Regions from separate parts of the Homo sapiens genome. Here region 2 is linked to region 1. The links are contacts of gene promoters, found by promoter capture Hi-C in human tissues and cell types (Jung and others, 2019). All regions are on one chromosome and are shown on one strand. Each heading gives the region's core, a stretch centred on a gene start or on the middle of the fragment in contact. The rest is flanking DNA. Distances are from core to core; before and after follow the strand shown.

Evidence for each region. The method cuts DNA at HindIII sites, captures the fragments that hold promoters and counts their contacts. A contact is called where the count stands out against the background at its distance.
Region 2: a contact is called between a fragment that was not itself captured here and the fragment with the promoter of FOXJ1 in region 1, in 2 of the 25 tissues and cell types used here (dorsolateral prefrontal cortex and pancreas).

The regions. Positions count from the first base shown.
Region 1 is chr17:76,137,230-76,144,886 of GRCh38, forward strand. FOXJ1 (forkhead box J1) reads right to left here and starts at 4,016. Exons shown (of 3, transcript NM_001454.4): 1 at 3,885-4,016; 2 at 2,669-3,335; 3 at 1-891. The coding sequence starts at 3,166. The coding sequence ends at 124. It overlaps RNF157 (ring finger protein 157), which reads right to left. Exons shown (of 19, transcript NM_052916.3): 19 at 5,245-7,657. It overlaps RNF157-AS1 (RNF157 antisense RNA 1), which reads left to right and starts at 3,327. Exons shown (of 8, transcript NR_040017.1): 1 at 3,327-3,451; 2 at 6,001-6,119. RefSeq lists enhancers at 1-460, 461-1,120, 1,783-2,442, 7,604-7,657 and silencers at 2,854-3,043, 3,104-3,173, 3,852-4,011. The HindIII fragment of the contact is 16,722 bases long and covers 1-7,657 here.
Region 2 is chr17:75,386,985-75,393,761 of GRCh38, forward strand. GRB2 (growth factor receptor bound protein 2) reads right to left here. Exons shown (of 6, transcript NM_002086.5): 2 at 6,567-6,777. The coding sequence starts at 6,644. Among named protein-coding and RNA genes, the nearest start is that of GRB2, 15 kb to the right of the region's middle. The HindIII fragment of the contact is 6,103 bases long and covers 1,718-6,777 here.

The DNA of each region.
Region 1 (7,657 bases), core at 2,766-5,265:
GGCAAGCCTTGGAGCCCTGGCCCAGCCCCTGCCTAGGTGGTGGGGTGTCTGTGGACCTGTGTTGGGGGGCAGTTCTGGACCCTGACTTGGGCACTGTCCAGAGGTGGGGCAGGGCCTGGCCTCTTACAAGAAGGCCCCCACGCTGGCCCAGTCCTGCAGGTCGGAGGCCAGGGTGGCATCCCCAGCCTCAAAGAGGGGCTCCGGGGGCAGGCAGCCACTGCCGCTCTCGTCCCAGGGGTGCTGCAGGAAGGATGTGGCCAGGAAGGTCTCATCGAAGTCCAGGCTGTCGGCAGCCTGCTCCACCGAAGGCCCCCAGGTGGCAGGGCAGTCGATGTGGCGGCCGTGGATGGTGAGGTCCACGTCCACGTGTGAGGCGGGGCTCAGAGGCGGGCTCAGCTCCAGGGCCTCCAGTGCACCCAGCTCCCCGCCCAGAGTGCCGGCGTCGAAGATGGCCTCCCAGTCAAAGTTGCCTTTGAGGGGTTCCAGCTCACCCTGCTCCTCCGGGGTGGGCAGCAGGGTGCTGGGGGGCCGCGGGACCTTGGCCACCCGCTTGGGCAGCGGCTGTTTGCGCTTATGCCCCAGCCTGCCCTCGCCTGCACCCCAGCCCGCCTCCCCGGTGGCCTCCTCGAACTCCCGCAGCAGCTGCTGGGCCTCGGTATTCACCGTCAGCGGCCCGGCCCGGGGGACAGCGCTGGGCTCCTGCGCGGCCTGGCGGGCAAAGGCTGGGTGGATGTGGACAGGGGGCAGTCGCCGCTTCTTGAAAGCGCCGCTCAGTAGCCGCTCCGCGTACTGGGGGTCAATGCGCCAGAAGCCCCCCTTGCCTGGTTCGTCCTTCTCCCGAGGCACTTTGATGAAGCACTTGTTCAGAGACAGGTTGTGGCGGATTGAATTCTGGGTGCAGGGAGAGAGCAAGAGAGAGAGGAACCGCTAGGTCAGTGGGGACGGGGAGATGAAATGGCACCTGGCGCTGCTGCGCACCCCCCATCTTTTCTCTGGCAGGGGAGAGGAGGGGGGGACAGACACACTGGTCTGCCCAGGCGGCTGCAGCTCTGGGACACCAGCCACAGGGCACTGGGAGCCCGGAGTGCTGTCGGAGGCTTTTGTTCCCTGTTGCCGGGATATCTGCCTGCTCAGTCATCCGAGCTCTGAGCCGCAGGGTGGCTCTCGGTGCCACCCCCGTCGCCTGCCCTCCCTCCCTCACCCTGCCGCTGACAGCCTCTGGCCAAAGCCCTCGGCTCCCCCAGGGCCTGGACCACCGTCTCCCTTTGCCTGGGCCTGGCTGGCCCTCTCTGTGAGTGAGTGGGTCCAGGGAGGGGGCTGGGCAGCCGAGAGTGGAGAGGAAGGGGGAGAGAGAGAGAGAGCGCGCAGGGATGAGAGGTGGGGGATCTGATGACTTTCCTTGTTTGTTGAGCCGGCTGCTGGCCTGGGCCTTCACCCCCCACGGCCCCCTCCCCCCACTCCAGGCTCAGTTGATTATTACCCAGCCAAGAGCTAAGAGCATAGCACTCATTCCTGGGGCCCGTTTCTCGAAGCGCAGCTGCACAGGCTTAGGGTAGGGTGGGGCTGAGGGTCTCTGCTTTTTCGGTGCAGCTGCAAATGACCCTGCTCTAGGGTCAGGGGCATTGGAAATGGCTTGGGACTGCGGTCCTGTGGCCTGCCCGCTTTGGGTGCTTCAGGGAAGAGTCTGGGCGTCCTTGGGGGGCCCCTGACTCCAACTAGCCCTTGATGGTGATGGCTGAAGACTCTTAGGGCACTGCCTACCCAGCCTCAAATCCACCATCCTCCTGCCTTGTCCATTCTTAGGTGCTTAATCTTGTCCAAAGCCTGCTGGGGGACAGGGGTCCTGGGCTGGGACGGCAGGGCAGGTGGGTGGATAATGCCCGGCAGCAAGGCTGGGATGTTTACATGGTGGCCTGGGCCCCTTGGCTGCTCAGTGCCTGGTTCCAGAGACGTGGAACACGAAGTGAGTGTGGTAGGCAGAGCCCCAGTGGAAGGCACCTGGCTCAGGTAATTGTCCCCCCAGGGAGGTTGGCTGACAGCGGGGGTTGGAGGCAGGAAACTGAGCAGAGGTTGAGGTGGGGGGCTGGGACAGCAGCTTTAGGAAGGCCCCTTACCCCCTCCACCCTCCATTGGGACACACCTGGCCCTCACATGCTAAGGCACCCCTTCCATTCCACCCTCCCCAAGCCAACTGCAAAAGGGCAGGACGTAGAGCCTGGCAGGGAGGCCACGTTCCAGTTTCCGTTTCTGACTCCCGGCCCCGACAAACCATCCCGGGGCAGGGCAGTGTCTAGGAATTCTAGGACTTGGGACAAGAATGCGCCTTCAGTTCATCGCTCTCCCCAAGGAGATTCTGTCCACGCAGAGTCTAGCCCTGGTCTTTGGCCTGGGCCTGCTGGATGAATGGCAGGTTATTTCCCCTTGAATCTCAGCCTCTGCACCCCTAAAGCCCTCCACCTCTGGACATTCTCCCTTCTCTCTCTCTCTCTCTCTGGAAGTCAAAGGAGGGGCAGTTGCAAGAACTGGGCTCCTTTGCAGGGCTCCCTTCTGGGGCGCTGGCCGCACCGCAGAGCCTACTTGGCCTGCAGATTTGGGATATGAATCCAGTGCAGCGTGGGGAGCGAGGAGGGAATGGGGAGGGAGCGGCCGCCGCCCGTGCCTCCTCTACCTGCCAGGTGGGATCTGCGTGGCGGAAGTAGCAGAAGTTGTCCGTGATCCACTTGTAGATGGCCGACAGGGTGATCTTGGTGGCCTTGCTGGCCTGCATGGCCATGCAGATGAGCGTGGCATACGAGTAGGGAGGCTTCACGTGCGGATTGGTGGCGTAGTCCACGTCGTCGGGGGGTGGGGCCTGCAGCCCCGGGGGCGCGCTCCGCGACGTGCACGACGACGTGGGCTTGCCCGGCGTGTGTGGCTGCCCCAGGCAGGCGGGGTCGGCCGCCAGGGGGGACCCGGGCGCCGCTGAACCTGGCACCTGGTGGTAGCCGTGGGGGTCGGTGCCCCCCGGGGGCAGGGCGGGGGCCTTGGCGTTGAGAATGGAGAATTCCTGCAGCCACTGCAGGCTGGTCAGGCTGTCATCCAGGGCGTCGGGCTCCTCCAGGCCGCCCTCCGGCCCGGCCTCCTCCGCCGGCCCGGCTCCCGAGAGGCGCAGCCAGCTCTCCGCCATGTCTGCGGGGACTCTCCGAGGGGGCGGTCAGCATCCACGGGCTGAGCCGGGGGTGGCCCGCCGCGCTCTCTGGCCCGCTGAGTCCCGCAGCTCCCGTTACACGGCCTCCCGGACGCGCGCTTCCATCTCGCGACCCCGGGGGCGCCTCCTCCGAATAAGTATGTGGTGCCTGCGAGGACCACGGTGGGAGCTGAGCACTACCCCACCCCCGAGGGGACAGTGTGTGTACGGGGACGCCCTCTCTAACATCATCCCCGCAGCTGGGGAGGATCTTTTAGTGCCGAGGTATGGGAAACAGAAGCAAGGCCCTGGGGTCCCACCCCCATCAGATCTGCCTCCCTCTTCCTTTCCTCTTCGAGGTTTTATTAGCCAAATGAAGAGGGTAGGGGCATCCGAGGCTATCCTTTTCTCCCGAAGAGCAGGAAATCAGGACCCCCTTCCTCCTCGCAACAAATGGAAGTGGGGCGAGAAGTTTGGGAGGGCGGTACGACGGGGCGGGGGCGGTGGAGGTCCTCTGATCCTTGAAAAGGAATATTATGATAGGGGATCATTGGGAAGGAAGGGGACGGAACAGTAACGGGGGGCAGGAGGCGAGTTTCCCCCAGACTTCTCCGATGTCAGTCCCTGGGCCCACCACTTCCGTTAAGGACGAATGAGAGAGCGGGTTGGTACCGTTGCCCACCCTTCCCCCTGGCCTGCAGCCCTCCCCATCCCTTACCTGGCTCAGAGCGCAGCCCGGGCCAGAGGAAGGTTCTGGAAGAAGTTGCTCCCACCCCCTGCGGCTCTCTGCCCCCAGCTCGGGGGCCCTGCCAGCGCCTCTTGCCGCCCCCCCGCCCGACGGCGCTTCTCTGAGCTACCGCGGCCCCGGGACCGGCATTAAGTAGCCGCTCCAAAGGCTTCTCCTGCTGCCATGGCGACGCTCCGCCCCCATAAACAGCTTCCGCCTCTGCCATTGGCCAGCACGTCTCCAAGGAGACCGCGGGCACTTGCCACTCTCCCTGGCGGCAACTCTCTTCGAACTCCCTCCTTCTGCCGCCCTCTCCCGCGCCACCCAACCCCCTACCCGCCGCTAAGTCCCGGCTCGGCTCATTCCCGCCCGAGGGCCCCGCGCTGGGGTCGGAGAAGCGCGCGGCCTGCGGCACCGGGAACCGCTATGGATCCGTTCGTTCTGGGGAACCAAGACTCTCGCCCCCACCCCCTTCCTGTCCCGTACGCTTTGAGGCGTCGACTGCTCCTGGGACGGAGCCTGGGGTTGGGGGGCTAAGGCTGGGAGCGGGCTCAGGCTCGGGAACCGTATCCTTGAGGTTTTCTTTCCTCTCCGCTACGAGTGGCACTTTCTCATGTTTCTGCAGCCTTTCCCTCTCCCCCGACTCTTAGGGTCTTTCTCTGGTGTCCCAGGCAGGTCTGACTTTCCGATGCCACCTGCCGCTTACATCCACAGAGGCGGCAGACACACCAAGGGGGTAGGGTAATCCAGTGTGTCCCAGTAAGCAGCTCCTTCCCCACCCGTATCCTCGAGGTTCCAGGAAGCTGACATTCCAGAGGCTTCTGCAGAAGCGCACTCACTCCTCTGGAGACAGCTGATGAAGCAGAGCCCGTGGGTAAAACTCTGAAGTCATGGACTTGTCAAATTCTCCTAGCGGGGTCATTTGCCCAATTAATTTCACCAACCTTTAAGTCACAGGGATTAAGAGTAGAGGGACTCTGGGGACTGTGTCCCTTCCTCCTCCCTTCCCCTGGCCTCCCTCCTGTCACCAGCTTTCCTGCTCTTTAATTATTGAGGAGCTGCAGGGTTGGACGTTCTCCGGTTTAAGGCGGCTGCAGAGGCAGTGGTGGGGGCTGGGTTGATTACCCCGCCTCTGCCCAGGAGCTGGAGAGCCGGGGTCGGGGAGGCTGGTGCCCAGACCATGAAGAAGGCCCGGCTATGGCGCATCACTCCCCCGCCAACATGCCTTTCCCTAGCCCTTGCCTCTCCCACTCCTCCAACTCCAGATCCTCTTGAGTAAAAGTATTAAAGAGTGCTGGCGAAAGTCAGACAGAAACTTTCACAGATAAGCTCACTTTGCAGTTAGCTCTCCTTCCCTTGTAAACAGTTTTATTCATTTTTAAGAATCATGCAGCAATCCATAAATATTGCATTCTTGATGTCCCCACTGTAGTGTGACCACAAGTGTACTCCAGGGAGAGGGGTACACAGATGGCACAAGCAGTATACACATGCACACACCAGGTGTGCAGACCAAAGCAAAGTGAGCGACCAGCGTGCTAAACTCCAGGTGGGCAGGACCCCAACTCCCAGGTGAGGTGGGCAGGACCCTAACTCCCAGGCCAGCCGGCTTAGAGTGTGGTGGTCTGTGCCCAGGAGATGCCTCAGCGGGGGTAGAAACTCTGGTGGGATGGAGCTGGGCAGAAGGAAAAAAGGGCTCTGTGAGGAAGCCGGGATCACACCACCTGAAGGCAATAGGGAGAGCACAGGCCTAGTGCAGCAGGAAGGAGCCCTGGGTCTCCATAGTTAGGCTGTGCCCTGTGGGAGAAGCCAGGCCCCACCTCTTCTCTTTGGGTGAACTGTTGACGTGACTATGTGACTGTCTCCAGATGAAGGACTGGGGCAAAAGGGTTGGCCACTGACCTGTCCTCATCAGGCTGACTGAGGACCAGCTCCTTGGATGGAGTATTTCTGTGGGCCAGAGAGCTAAATGACAGCCAAGAGAAGGCAGGGGGAGGGAGGAAGAGGAGAAATAGTAACTGAGAAACAAGTAAAGGACATTTCTAACCTAGGTATGCCTTGGACATGGGACTGAGGCCTTGAGGAATCTTTCCGTGCTTCTCCCTAGGAGAGGACTAAGCACCTGCTGCGAGGAAGGACAGGGATCCTCAGGAAGGGGGTCCTGGCCACTGTGGCTACTGTTTACCTGAATCTCCTTCATCTCAGCTCCTTCCTCCCTCCTCCCAGGTAACACCACACTGTGAATACTACCTGCAGGGGACAGGACAGGAGGTGGTCTGTGTGCCACCACCCCAGGGTAAGGGAAGCTCCCTGTCACCTGCTGCTTCTGGGCTCATATTTCAGGGAAATCAGGAAGTGGGGTTATTGCTCAGCTTATGCATCTTAACTATGAAAGGGGCGGGAAGAATGTAGGGGGAAGGAAGGAAAGAACATTAGGTGGGGCCTGAAATGGTAAAGTCTACTGCAGTTTTTCAGAGAGGGTTGGACGACAGGCCCCCCTCTCCATCAGGGCAGGATGTGAGCCACAACCACTAGGCAGTGAGACAGTCACTGCACTCCTGGCCTCTGCAGCCACACAGAAACGAAGGACCCCCTGGGCACCAGGCTCTTTTTGAGGCTGCCTTGGAAACAGCCTTGAATTTTTTTTTTTTTGTTTGAGACAGAGTTTCGATCTTTTCAATCTTGTAGCCCAGGCTGGAGTGCAGTGGCACGATCTTGGCTCACCGCAACCTCCACCTCCTGAGTTCAAGCGATTCTCCTGCCTCAGCCTCCCGAGTAGCTGGGGAGGGCCCTTGAAGTGAAGGCCCTGAGCCCTGATTCCAACCTCTGCTCCCAGCACACTGCTGCTGGCCACATGCTGCTGCCTGAACTTAGCTCAAGGCTCTCCATCACTTCCTTTGGGGACCTGGGCACCAAACTGAGAATCACTGGTCCACATTTCTCTCAACCATTAACAAAAGGGGGTAGAGATGGGGGCAACAGGGACAAGAATGCCACCTCCCAATTGAGTGAGGATGAATTATGGTAATATACGACCACTCCTCACCCAGTGCTTGGCACACAGAGGTGGTCAACACATGTGTTTCTTGAAATGTCACCTTAGGATGGAGTTGCAGGCCTCCCTGAATGCACCTGATCAGGAGAAATGCTCCTTAAGGGAAATCATCTTAACTGGGGGATTCTCAGATTCAAGGGCTCCTTCTTTTTTTTTTTTTTTCTCTGTCGCCCAGGCTGGAGTGCATTGGCGCGATCTCGGCTCACTGCAAGCTCCGCCTCCCGGGTTCAGGCCATTCTCCTGCCTCAGCCTCCCAAGTAGCTGGGACTACAGGCGCCTGCAACCATGCCCAGCTAATTTTTTGTATTTTTAGTAGAGACGGGGTTTCGCCGTGTTAGCCAGGATGGTCTCGATCTCCTGATCTCATGATCCACCCGCCTCGGCCTCCCAAAGTGCTGGGATTACAGGCGTGAGCCACCGCGCCCGGCCAAGAGCTCCTTCTTAACCGCACAGGCATGTGAGGCCCAGAAGACTGGCTCTGCCACCAGAAGGAAGGATTGTTTCCTTCAACCAACCTTTTGGTTGCTACCATTTCTTGTCCTTGAGAAAGGTGCTCCTAGTGCTTGTAGAGGGAAACGCTACGTCCGTGCAGTATGGCTCTCCCTTTCCACAGGAGCGATCCTCCAGCCCTACCCCAAACTGCAGGTTTCCAATTGGTTATGATGTGCCAGAGACCAGGAAATGCCAGAGGGATGTTTGTAACAAAGCT
Region 2 (6,777 bases), core at 3,519-6,018, 750 kb before region 1:
CTAACTAAAAACACACACACACAAAAATTAGCTGGGTGTGGTGGCGGGTGCCTGTAGTCCCAACTAATCGGGAGGCTGAGGTAGGAGAATGGCATGAACCCAGGAGGCGGAGCTTGCAGTGAGCTGAGATCCCACCACTGCACTCCATCCAGCCTGAGGGACAGAGCGAGACTCCATCTCAAAAAAAAAAAGAGTGCCAATCTTGCCCAGGACGGTGGCTCAAGCCTGTAATCCTAGCCAAGGTGGGTAGATATTTTGAGGCCAGGAGTTCGAGACTAACCTGGCCAACATGGTGAAACTCACCTCTACTAAAAGTACAAAAATTAGCAGGGTGTGGTAGCACGTGCCTGTAGTCCCAGCTATAGGCTGAGGTGGGAGGATCGTTTGAGCCTGGGAGGCAGAGGTTGCAGTGAGCTATGATGGCACCTCTGCATTCCAGCCTTGGTGACAGGGGGAGACTCTGTCTTAAAAAAAAAAAAAAAAAGTCAATATTTCAGCATTCAAGATTAGAAATGATCTATAATTTAGTAGGCTGGGCATGGTGGCTCACACCTGTAATCCCAGCACTTTGGGAGGCCGAGGCAGGTGGATCATTTGAGGTCAGGAGTTTAAGACCAGCCTGGCCAACATGATAAAACCACATCTCTATTAAAAATACAAAAAATTAGCCAGGTGTGGTGGCGGGCGCCTATAATCCCATCTACTCGGGAGGCTGAGACAGGACGATCACTTGAACTCAGGAGGTGGAGGTTGCAGCAAGCCAAGATCGTGCGATTGCACTCCAGCCTGGGCGACAGAGTGAGACTTCGCCTAAAAAAAAAAACAAAACAAAAAAACAAACCCAACAACTTAGAAGCAATTCTACCATATGGTTTAGAGGTGAAACTGAAAGATTCTGAAGGAATACTACATTTCCTTACTCATTTCTTTCTCCAAACAGGAGGAAGAATCATCTTCAGCCAGTCTCCCAAAAAGAATCTTTTATAGGAAATGAAAGTTCATTCTCAGCACCTATTTGGAAATAGTCCATTCAGCTGACAAAATGAATATAATAAAAAGCAAGCAGATTATTTGCTTTAAGAGCACTCAAACAACAAACTGCTCCCTTCCTTTTTTGTTTTTGTTTTTTTGAGATGGAGTCTCTCTCGGTTGCCCAGGCTGGAGTGGAATGGCACAATCTTGGCTCACTGGAACCTCCACATCCCGGGTTCAAGCGATTCTCCTCCCTCAGCCTCCCGAGTAGCTGGGATTACAGGTACGCACGCGCACCACCGGGCCCGGCTGTTTTTTGTATTTTTAGTAGAGATGGGGTTTCACCATGTTGGCCAGGCTGGTCTCGAACTCCTGACCTCAAATGATCCATGCGCCTCGGCCTCCCCAAAGTGTTGGGATTCAGGCGTGAGCCACCACGCCTGACCACAAACTAACCTCCTTCTTAAAGATTAAATGCAATATTCTGGTTTAGTCAACAAGATTGATAAGAATTCTTACCAAAAGGCAAAGGCTGGGTGCAATGGCTCACACCTGTAATCCCAGCACTTTGGGAGGAAAAAATAAATGGTTCTACAGAGTATACTGATACTAGGACTTTAAAATAGTGGGGGGGGGGAAGAAAAACACTTTTTTTTTTTTTTAATTTGGAGATGGGGTCTCGCTTTGTTGCCCAGGTTGGGCTCCAACTCCTGGGCTCAAGCAATCTTCCTCTCTCAGCTTCATGAGCAGGTGGGGCCTTCAGGCTTGCACGAGCATGCCTGGCTTTTTATTTAGATTAGGTAATTTGAACCCCTGAAATGGGACTTGTGCACTGAAACTCAGGACTTATAACTTGTGAAAACTCTAACCAACCAAACTAGGGATTGGCTCTCCACTGATCTTCTCCATTGAGGATCATAATCAAAGGGCATTCCTTTCTTAGGAGACTTATTAAAATGCCCCTATCTGACAGGCAGAAATCCCATGATTCTTGCTTTCAGTATCTTTCAAACCACTCCCCTCCTTCATTTCTAGTATCCCAGGTTGATACAGACACTTGACACACAACCCGATTACTTGCCACCATCCAGGCTTGGGGCCCCAGCCTTGCCCCCTTGCAATTCTTTATACACACACACACAATGCTCTTCATCGCTAAAAACCTTCCGAGGCTTCTTAAGGACCAGATCAAACTCTTACTGGGCTTTTCTCACCTCGCTCCAACTCTACCTTATTTTCCACTATGTCAGTCTAGATTCTTATTCCAGCCTTCCTATCTCAAACACAACAAGCACAAGTTTCGTCTCCCTTGAAATGTCCTCCTTCTCTTAACCTACACGTCCTGTTCTCCTACAAGGTTCAAGTCACAACTCTGCACACACCTGACTGATGTCAGCGCTTGCCAGTTTCATCCTTCCTGAACGACTCTAGCAGTTACAGTGTGCAACCCGACTCAAGTATACCATCAAATACTACTAAGAATCACTACTACAAATCACTACCAAGAATGATAGTTGTGTGATCTTGGATAGATCATTTAACCTATATGGGCCACCATTTCCTCATCTGTAAAAGAGTAAGTCTAACTTAAGAAATTTTAAAAGATCTTGCCGGGCGCGGTGGCTCACGCCTGTAATCCCAGCACTTTGGGAGGCCGAGACGGGCGGATCACCAGGTCAGGAGATCGAGACCATCCTGGCTAACATGGTGAAACCCCGTCTCTACTAAAAATACAAAAAATTAGCCGGGCGTGCTGGTGGGTGCCTGTAGTCCCAGCTACTGGGAGGCTGAGGCAGGAGAATGGCGTGAACCCGGGAGGCAGAGCTTGCAGTGAGCCGAGATCGCGCCACTGCACTCCAGCCTGGGTGACAGAGCGAGACTCCATCTCAAAAAAATAAAAAAATAAATAAAAATAAATTTTAAAAGATCTTTTCCTGTTCTAAAAAAATTTTTATATACCATCTTGTACTGTTTCACATATTAATCTCAATTCTCTTACTTGAGATTTTGGAGCTTCTGAAGGGAGAAAGTACATCTTATATTTCTCTCCCAACTCTCAAAGCAACTTATCCCAGTATCTGGCTCAAGAGATGCTCAGTCAGTGTGACACTGAAATAGGCCAGGCAGTGCTGAGACAGAATGCTTTGAAGATCTCAATGTGAACTCAAGACCTGTTTTTAAAGTAGTTTAAGAAACTGGTAAAGGTAGTTAGTGCCAGAGAGGGTAGAATACACCTAGATGATCCAGGCTGGCTCTCCACTAGAGCTGAAGAAAGCAAGAGGCTGGCTCTAGAATGGAATGAGCACAGATCTGAGAGCTCAAAATGGGTCTCTTAATTCCTATAAGCACAGTTTGAAGTATGTATACATAAGCCCCTAAATGGCAGTTGCAACTCCTAGGTAAGTTTTATGTGCTCTAGTGTAGACTATTTAGGGGTCTTGTCAGTGGAGAACCTCTGGGACTGTCTCAAGCCTGCCCTACAATGGTGGGAGGAATTCTGATGTATTCCAACCACACCAGGCCTGAAACCTGCAGTGGAAGGGCAATTCCTTCTATTTTACATCCCAGTGTCCTCTCCCTCCCCGAGCCAAGAAAAACACAAGCTTTTATAAGAGAGAGAAACAAAGGCAGACATATTGAACCATTCAACTCTATTTTAGGCTTCCAGTAAAATGCTTTTATTTTTTCCTCTTTTTCTCTGGACAGTAACAGGTCAATGTGTAGACAGAAAGTAGGGAAGGGGTCTGCTGGAGGAGAGGAGTCACCATTTTTAACTAAAAGTTAACCAGGAACTCCAAGACAGGAGAAGATGTGATCCTTCTGAACTATAGACAGAGGATGAAGGCTAAGTGCCTATTTCATTATCTTGAAATGAAACTTATTCAATATCCATATGCACGTCTCCTTTATCAAGAGAAGGCATATATATGCCTATTTCAATGAAAGTTAAATTGTTCAATGCTATTCCAGCAACTTTTAAAACATGTTTTGGCTTACAACTAATACCCTCAAGACGTCCCAAATCAAAGCAATTCAAATGAAGCCAGTTTACTTCTTGAAGAATCAAATGAGGAAAACTCCGTTTTTTTAACTAACAGCTTTTAAGAAAGCATGTTCCTCCTCTTCACCCAGCCATTTCACACAGTTATGAGACAAAGGGCAACTACTGTATCGTCACTCTTTTTTTTTTCTTTTGGAGTAAAGCCACAACATTACCAACAAACAGCTAATGGCCACCGTTCAAAAGCAATAATGGCATTATGACTTCATATCTCAGTTATCTACCAAATTGAAAAGAACCACATATATGTATTTTTCTCTCTCCTCAAAGAAAATCTAAAAGTGAATGTGAGTATTCTGATTTACTTTCTCCTCCATAATAAAAATTTCTGAGGGACTGTTAAACAGGATCTTCTTCCCTAATAATAGGATGGGAAAGAAGGTTTTTACACTTGCTCCAGAATTTACTAATTTAAGTTAAAGAATTTATAAAATGTTCATGGTCTAGGTCTAGGACAAACTTCAAAGACAGAAATCAGGGAAAGTTCTTGTTTAAAAATTTTAAAAAAAGGCTGGGTGCAGTAGCTCACGCCTGTAATCCCAGCACTTTGGGAGGCCGAGGTGGGCAGATCACGAGGTCAGGAGATTGAGATCATCCTGGCTAACATGGTGAAATCCCATCTCCACTAAAAATTCAAAAAATTAGCCGGGCGTGGTGGCGGGCGCCTGTAGTCCCGGCTACTCGGGAGGCTGAGGCAGGAGAATGGCATGAACCTGGGAGGTGGAGCTTGCGGTGAGCCCAGATTGTACCACCGCACTCCAGCCTGGGTGACAGAGCGAGACTCCATCTCAAAAAAAAAAAAAAAAAAAAAATTCTTAAAAAGAGACCGCATGCCCCTAGTTTTGTTTTAATTTGTTGCTTCAGTGCTTAATGTGCAATGGGACAGATTTAGAGAAAAATATGAACCACCAGCCTTCTAGGTTCAAGTTTCTAAGATAAACTTATGAAAAAATCTAAGTTTGTATCAAAAACAAAAAATACTAGCCCAAAAGGGCTTTTGTACAGGCTATAGATGTGGGCATTTGAGTAGCCCATCTTATACCATCACAAGTGGGTTATCTACAGAAAACAGTAATCACCTACAGAAACATCAAATTACCTCTCCCATACACCAATGAAAACTGAGGAATTTTGTAGTCTAAGTTAACTTTGCCCTGATCTCTAGCTGGGCATATTTTCTCTAGTTCAAGAAAATAGAAACCTAGTTTCTAGAAAATGGTTCCGTCTGCTTTCTGACAATTTAGTGTTGACTTTGAGAATACCCTCGAAAAGTGTGGTGTCACAAACACAGCTTTGAAATGAACACACAGACACAAAGTTTTCTTCTCTTTAAAGGGCTCTGCAGCATCATCTTCTATGAGGCTCAACCTACATTTCTAACATTAAGAAATTACTGGGCAGTTAACTTCAGAGTAGAACTCTACGCCTTGGGCAATGAGGGCAAAATAAAGACTATCAATAAGTCCACATAACTTAAAAGTAAAAAGACTGCACGTCCTTTTATAAAGAACCATATTTCTACATCTCCACTTGCTTTCTCTTCATAAAATTCTAAGAATTTCATTCAGGGGTAGTAAACAAATGAGGTAGCAAATTCCAACAATCAGTCTAAGGCTCAGAAGGAAAAATGTCAAAACTTGAGACACAGGGAACACTCAAACATGAAGCTTCAGCCTTTCCTCCTTTAAAGTTAACATACTCTTTGATAACACTCATCCTCGTTAAAATAAATTACACATCCAAAAGAGCAAACTGCTACAGTCAATTGGGTAAACAACATAATTAACATGTGCTGGGGGAGAGCGAATCCTCACATAAATAGTGGGGCTCAAAATAAGCTGCACATGGTATAGAAGCTGATTTTTAAACTGTCAGCAGGTTTCTTTTCGTGCAATTAGAGTTTAATATGGGGTAATTGCTCCTCAAGTTTCTTTTAAGAAAGTCGAAATCTGACTTGTACAATAGCAGGTTGCACCTTATTATTTAGAACTCCATTTGTTTTTTCACAAAGAATAAAAATACACTGAAGTTCTTTAATGAGTTTTGGTATGTACTTCTAACAACCTCTCTAAACTGGGAAAATTAATTTCTAACCTACCAAAATCATATTCCAGAACGCAAAATCCTTTGGCTATACAAAGTAAGACTAACTGAATGCTTTTACATAAATACTTCAGGTCTGGGTCTTTTTAAAAAATGCTATTTTTAAAATAAAACTCTACAGGGCAAATCAATCTACTCATATACTTCCTTTCTACAATCACATTACTTTGACTTTACTTGAAATATTACCAGTATCAACAGACAAATGAGGCATTCACACAAAGGCAGTTAAACACCACACATCACACCAACTCACTTAAGTCATATTTAATATTCTACTCAGCATCTAAAGCTCTCCAGAACAAATATGATGGTAAATGTTAAAAGTGTACAATGAAAAACACAGCTTCTTTGTGTGTAATCAGGGCGAAAGAAGGTGGGTGAGCACAGGGAGAGCGATCTCAGCATTGTGCTCGGCATCAGCACTTACCTTGAGGATGTCCCCCCTTTTGAAGCTCAGCTCGTCGTCTGCAGTAGCTTTGAAGTCATATTTGGCGATGGCTTCCATTCTGAGCGCTGCTCAGTGCTCAGCAGCCTGAAGCAGGGGGAAGGGAGTCTTCCCTGCTGAAGCAACCCAGCGCTCTGGGCTTAGCCTCGCCTCTCTTCTGGGACTCGCTCCGGCACTCTGGGACACACAATGC